2 separate regions of the Homo sapiens genome follow, and region 2 is linked to region 1. The links are contacts of gene promoters, found by promoter capture Hi-C in human tissues and cell types (Jung and others, 2019). All regions are on one chromosome and are shown on one strand. The core of a region is centred on a gene start or on the middle of the fragment in contact, and the rest is flanking DNA. Distances in the headings are between cores, read along the strand shown.

Region 1 (3,394 bases), core at 1-2,500:
GCCAGCCCATTCACCAGATGAGGCAAAAACCCAAGATAAATATCTGAGCAAGTCACGTAGACTGGGGCCCCCGAGCCCCAATACCAAGCGCCCCTTTATAAGCTCTTACATTTTGTCCAAATTTGAAATGGTTTCGTTAAGGCAGAAGCTTGGACTACTTCCCCATTGCTAGCTTTGGAAAGTAGTCACTTTCCTTTCCGGGCCCTTCGTCCTTGTTGATTGGCTCTGCAAGCAGCGAGCAGCCCAGCCTGAACTCGGTTACACAGTAATTTCAAATCTTAGAAGAATAAAATATCCTGAGTGTTATATAGATTTAAAACACTTGATATAATCATTTGCCAATCTTTTATTAGATAAGCTCGGGGCACTTTCAATGGATTAAAAATGCATCACGGTCAGGCAACGATGACCGTCCTTAATGCCTGCAATGTCTAATGTTCCGCTATGTTCCAGATTTGTTCGCGCTGTTGGTGGAGGCGCAACAGCCGGGAAGCGCTTACTGGGCTCCACACGGACTACACACACTGTATCTTGTCATTTCGTCCTCACAGCAAGGACTGATACGTAAGCTCATTTTTCAGATGAGGAAAATGAGACCGGCGAGAGGCTGATATGCTTAGCGGTACAGAGCTAGGAAATCAGGGACAGAACCCAGGCTGGAAGTCACGCTGGCTCTAGAGCCCCGTCCTTTCGACCTGTTCCCGTCGCTGGGGAGGGGCACGTCAGTGACACTAAACCGTGGAAAGAAATACAGTACCAGTGGAAAGCAGGGGCTCCAACGGGGTAAAGGCATGCTCCATAACGGATTATTGGCCTCTGCATTAAAAAAAAAAAAGTGAAGTTAGACTCTCAGTTTTAATTAAACATCGCGCAGAACCAACAGCACGGGAGCCGCCTGAACCTGGCACTCGGCAGCGGCGCGCTCCGGGACCCAGGAGCCAGCTGAGCTGCGGCGCAGCACCCGGCGCTGGGGACCCGCCACGGCTCGCCTACAGCACCGCCGCGGGCGGGGGCCCCCGGAGACCGGCCGCGCGGGCCGCTATGAGGTCCGAGGGGTTGCCCCTGCCGCCTCTCTCCGCGAACCCATCACCATCCGGGAACCTGGGGAGCGAGAGGCGGCCGCCCCCTTCCGCGGCCCGCGCGCCCGGCAGCAGTCGCACTTACACAATGGCTGGTAGGAGCCACAGACTGGAGATCGCAGGCTGCGGGAGCTACGGCGATCGACCGCTCGGCGCTCGGCTGAGGAGCCTTGGCGCGCGGTCCTCGCTCGCAGGTTTTAGCCCCCGGGACGCGAGGTGGCCCCGCCCGCTTCCGGGAGCCGGAGGCAAGTGGGAGCCGCGCCCTGTGCTCTGCGTCCGGCACTACCCACCTCAAGTCTCCAAGGCTTCGTTTTCTGGGCTGGTTCTGCTAGCTGTAGTACTGCTGCCGGGCCCTCTGCACTCAGCTTTAACAAGGAGGCCATTTGCTTCAAACTAAGTGGCGAATTCCCTATCACCCATGCTTGACCTAGCTTCCAAGCCAAACTTACTTTCCACTGTGCTGCTTCTAGTCCTGCTACCGGTGTCCTCCCTGAGCCGTCGGGTTAAAAGCTTTCCTTCCTGGCCGGGTGCGGTGACTCACGCCTGTAATCCCAGCAGTTTGGGAGGCCGAGGCGGACGGATCATGAGGTCAGAAGTTCGAGACCAGCCTGGCCAGCATGGTGAAACCTCGTCTCTACTAAAAATACAAAAAATTAGCCGGGCATGGTGGCGCGCGCCTGTAGGCCCAGCTACTCGGGAGGCCGAGGCAGGAGAATCGCTTGAACCCGGGAGGCCGGAGGTTGCAGTGAGCCAAGATCACACCAGTGCACTCCAGTCTGGGCGACAAAGCGAGACTCCATCTCAAAGAAAAAAAAAAAGCTTTCTTTAGGGAACACTCCGTTAAGAGCTTTCCTTACTTTGCTTTGTGGAAACAGAATGTTTTTGTTGGAAGAAACTTTAAGCCACCTATCTGCAGCTGCAGAGCGTCACTGTTGCAATACAGGCTTTTCCAATAGTGAGCGAACCTAATCTCCCTCTACCCTCTTAAGGTTTCCACCTGGGCCTAAGAGGTTAAATTGACTTAAGACAGTTTAACAGGGGAAAAGCTTACAGCTATGTGCATGGGAGTCCACAAGAAAAGACCCAAAGAAGGAGGAAGCCTAAATGCTTATATACGGGTTTAGCTACAACAAATTTCAAAAGTCCATGTTTAAATATGACCTTAATGAACCTAAAAGACAATTGGGGTACAAGGAAACTATCTGCACATGTAATAGACAAGTGGTTGCCATGTGTTTATCCTATGAAGAGCTGTTACCAGTTGATGTGTCCAGGTTCTTGGCGTCTTGAACAAAGAATTGGACAAAACGCACAAAGCAAGGAAAGAATGAAGCAAAAACAGAGATTTATTGAAGATGAAAGTACACCCCATAGGTTGGGAGCGCCCGAGGATAGGGGCTCAAGAGTGCCGTTAGAGAATGTTCTGGGGTTTAAATGCCAGCTAGAGGTTTCCATTGGTTACTTGGCTTATGCCCTATGTAAATGAAGAGGATGAAGTAAATTTTAAAGTCATTTACTGGATATAAGCCCTGTGTAAATGGAGAGGATGTTTCCTGTCATTGCTGAAGTACTGCAATTTGATTTAGTTCCAGGAAGTCAGCATGAATCGGCCTTAACATTCCCTGCCTCCAGACCCTATTCTGCCTCAGAACTACATGTCCATTAGTAAAAGGCAAACCAGAAAAATTATGACCAAGGATATAAACAGGCAAGGCAAATTATAGAAGGTAGTCAAATGGCAAAAACACATCACCAATATTCAGAACGAAATCTTGAACAATGAATTCAATGGCAGATTGTAACCAATTTTTTAAGCAGTAATAAAAATTTACACTTACTGATCAATTATTATGTTCCAGTCAGTGTTGAGGTCTTTTATATTTTATTTAATTACCCTAAAATGTAGGCTCCAGGAAAACAAGGACCAAAATTTAGTTGTTGGCCCTTGAATCCTCACTCTAGCACAGTTTACTTGTTAATGATTTGTCTCCCCCTACTAGAGAGCTAGCTCTCTAAGGGCAGGAGCCTTGTCTATTTCCTTCCCTGCTATTTCTCCAGCCACACAGTGTGTCTCACCAAGATAAGTTCAGTAAATGTGAAATAAATTAACAAATAATGGGAAAAAAATGGAGAATTATGGTACTTCATACCAGGAATTACAGGCATACCTCCTTTTATTGTGTTTAGCTTTATTGTGCTTTACAGATACCGCTTTTACAAATTGAAAGTTTGTGGCAAGCCTGCATCAAGCAGGTCTATCTGCAACATTTTTCCGAAAGCGTGTACCTGCTTCGTGTCTCTGCGTCATATTTTGG
Region 2 (3,394 bases), core at 302-2,801, 370 kb before region 1:
CTCCTGTGGACACTGGCCTGCCCCAAAACCATCCCACAGGGGTGAGAATTATGACCTGCAGATGCCAAAGATGACTGAGTCGCAGCCATCCTAATCTCTTGCTGCCCGGCTGTAGAGCAAGGCAAGTCATTTTGTACTGCTGGGCCTCAGTGCCATCCCTGAAAACAGAGAGTTGATCTTTTCACTGTAATATTTTATGACTTTTGTTAAAAGTCCCTCAGGTGACCTCAGCATCCATTTGTAAAATGCCAATAATACTTGTCCCCAGTTACCTCTAATACTGCTATCGTGAAGATGAATGAGTTAATGTCTGTGAAGAGCTTTGACTTCTCCAGAAAAGTGTTGAAAATGTGTTGTATTATTATCATCATTTCATCTGCACTGAGGAAGCTTTAAAGTGGCATTTGCTTCTATCCTTCAAATGTCAACAGAGATTATTACAGGTACATCAAACAAACAGAAATGTCATAGAAAAGTGAAAAAAGAGAGGAACATGTGCAGTAGCATGGTATGATTACTTAACATCAATCTCAAACCTGCAGGTGGTATTTATACAAATAAGCTAAAGAGACATAATCCAGGCCCTTTTAGAATTTACCAGTCAAGAGGGTCTCTGTGAATCTGCTGTGATTCTGGGGGCTGCCGGATTTGCAAATCGTTCACTGCTCAATTGAACTCTTTTAAATTTAATTCGGCTGAAGTTTTTCTTTTATCAGATGGTGTCAGAAGTGGGATCCAAAATGGAGCTTCTAGCATCCCCCAGCAGTGCTGAGTGAATATGCAAGGTACCTGCAGGACCCACTTGTGTCCACTCATCTCTTAGAGCTGCTGGGGATCATGGGTAAGCTCCTTCTTGGATTTCGGAGCTCCGCTGATCTCTCACAGCCACTGGGGATCATGGGTAAGCTCCCTCTTGGATTTCCGAGCTCCACTGATCTCTCACAGCCACTGGGGATCATGGTTAAGCTCCCTCTTGGATTTCCCAGCTCCACAGATTTGTGTTTTGAGCTCTCTGAGTTTCTTTGAGCAAATTTCTGATCCAAACTGGGTTTGGAGTTGTGACAGAAACTGGACTGGGTACAGGAATGGATTTGATCTGGGAATTAACTGGCTTGGATCCAGTTAGAAGCCTCTTACATCTGACTGGGTCAGAAAGGAACTGGTAGTAAGCAGTAATATTGCAGGAGTTATAAAATTTGGCTTTTGAAAAATCAGATTTTTGTGTTATACCCCTTTGTTTCATTTTTCTTACACTTGGGTAGGAAAAAAAAATCACTGGCTAAGTTAATCAAGAGAAGCTGAGCGTAAGGCCAATATTTTAGGTAAAAATGGGATCCTTAGTTTCTGGAAAACTGAGTTCTTTCTGGCTTACACTTCAGGCCTGGGAGGCAGCGAAGTCTTACAGAAACAGCAAAATGTTACTAAAGATAACACAGTGGAATGTTCCGAATGAACAACAATGCATTTGAAGTACATTTTTAAAATGAGGGCTCTAAGTAAAGTCCCTTTTGTCTAAGAATGGGTTTGGCACTACAGCATGTCAACTGCTATTCTCTTTGGAATAATCTGCCTTGCACTCTTTGCTGACAACTGTGGGTGACAGGATTAGGCATGTACAGGATCGTGGGACATGGGGAGCTTTTTCCTCCCTAAAAGGGGAAACTTGAGAGATGATGGGCCTGCTGGAAAAGATCCCTTCGCTACCTAGAAGCAGCCGCCTGAACTTTTTTTTCAGTGTCGCTGCAATGGGTGGGTCTTTCTCTGGCCTCCCAGATCATTTCACCTTCCCCACCCTGCCTCAGGCAATGCTTTTCTCTTTCTCCTTTCTCTTTCTTATCTTTTCTATTACTCAGGGCAACCATCTTGCCCAGAGACCACAGGTTGAAACTCCTGGTTGGAGGTTGGATTAATGATGATGGAGCCCAACCAGGTGCAAATTTGAGCCTTGCCAGTTTGATACTGGGTGCTAATCAGAGCAGCTAATGTCTATGTTTTTGTCACATGTATTTTACTCTGGCCAGAACAGAAAAAGATAATTTTCTTTTCTGATGTGGCTTTGCCCCAGCGCGATGGTGTGGCAAGCTCAGTCATGGAGGCCGCTCAGGCAAAGAGAACCCAGAAGCCTGGCATGCCGGCAAAAGGGTAAGAATTTCTTACCAGTCAGACTTCTGGCTTCTCTCTTTCTGTGCAAATGGTTGACTGAATGGTAAAAATCACTGTTTATCTCCATCTTGTTTTATGTCCTTGGGAGCTTGACCTTGTTACCACGTGGCAGTACTTTCTCTTGGTCTCCTCCTTCCAGGGAACAGGAATTTTAGGGTTTATGTCATAATTAGCTCTAAAAATTATCTTGAGTAGTTAAAAGCCTGTGTAAGCTCACAATTAACTATTCTAGATGCTTTCTGGGAAGAACAGTGAAGACTGCCCTATGCTGTAGCTCAGTTGCTAAGGCTTTGCCCTTTCTTACTGGTGGTCTGGTTTCGATTCCCTGCTTGTGAAATAAAAGCCTTTTCATTTAATTTCTGCATGACCTTGTCTAGTCTCTTCTCCTTCATGTACTATCTTAAATTTTCCTTTCGCTGAGCACCTGGGAGGTTACCTTTGGTAAAGTTCAAAAGCCGGAAATATCGGAGTGAAGGTTAGGTACTATTAGAAGTCAATTTTCCATTTATTTGTGCTTGGGAAGATCTAGTCAAATTAACCAGATGACTGAATCCTTGAATTTACAGAAAGCCCTTGAAGTTCTGAAAGATTTGCCATGTAAATCCCTCTAAGATTCTGGCTCAATCTTGATCAATTCAGCCAGACCAACTGGTCCACTCAGGCCACCTCTTGCTGGTGAAATTCCCGCTCCTCTCACAAAGGCATCTTCCCTGCTGCCTGTGTCCCTACGCGGTGCCCTGCTTTCCTCTTTGGCTCCACTGCCCACTCGAGATTCCCTGTTACAGTGAGTACCTGCCACTCTAGCTCCTCCAGATCTCCTGCCACCCTCCTGCACCAGCCCCTCCCCGACCCCTGCTTTACCCTACGAGGGCCACCGGCATGACTTGACCTCTGCTCCTTTAATAATAGATGGTTCTTTCTTATATCTCAGCCTGAAACTGTGACAGTCCCGAAAATGAAATCTCAGTGGTCATGGTGGCTTTTCATTGTCTTGTGGAAAAATATTTACAACACAGAAATAGGGGATGAGTGTTTACCATCAAGCAGAATCCATTCAATCATATGGCTGTTTTTAGAATAGAATTTCATTTAGTGAGAGTCTGACCGCTGCCTTTTGGGGAAAACATCATTTGATTTAAGTTCAGATGGTCTAATATTAACAGATATGATTTGTTATAGCAAAGGTAATGAAGCAATGTCTTAGACTTTGTCCATAAACCTATAAATATAC

What was found. The method cuts DNA at HindIII sites, captures the fragments that hold promoters and counts their contacts. A contact is called where the count stands out against the background at its distance.
Region 2: a contact is called between a fragment that was not itself captured here and the fragment with the promoter of TPK1 in region 1, in 1 of the 25 tissues and cell types used here (dorsolateral prefrontal cortex).

The regions. Positions count from the first base shown.
Region 1 is chr7:144,834,803-144,838,196 of GRCh38, forward strand. It overlaps TPK1 (thiamin pyrophosphokinase 1), which reads right to left and starts at 1,251. Exons shown (of 9, transcript NM_022445.4): 1 at 1,165-1,251; 2 at 758-816. The coding sequence starts at 800. RefSeq lists a silencer at 992-1,091 and an enhancer at 1,392-1,461. The HindIII fragment of the contact is 4,228 bases long and covers 869-3,394 here.
Region 2 is chr7:144,463,175-144,466,568 of GRCh38, forward strand. All of the region lies in intron 8 of TPK1 (thiamin pyrophosphokinase 1), which reads right to left. Among named protein-coding and RNA genes, the nearest start is that of NOBOX, 61 kb to the left of the region's middle. The HindIII fragment of the contact is 4,814 bases long and covers 1-3,394 here.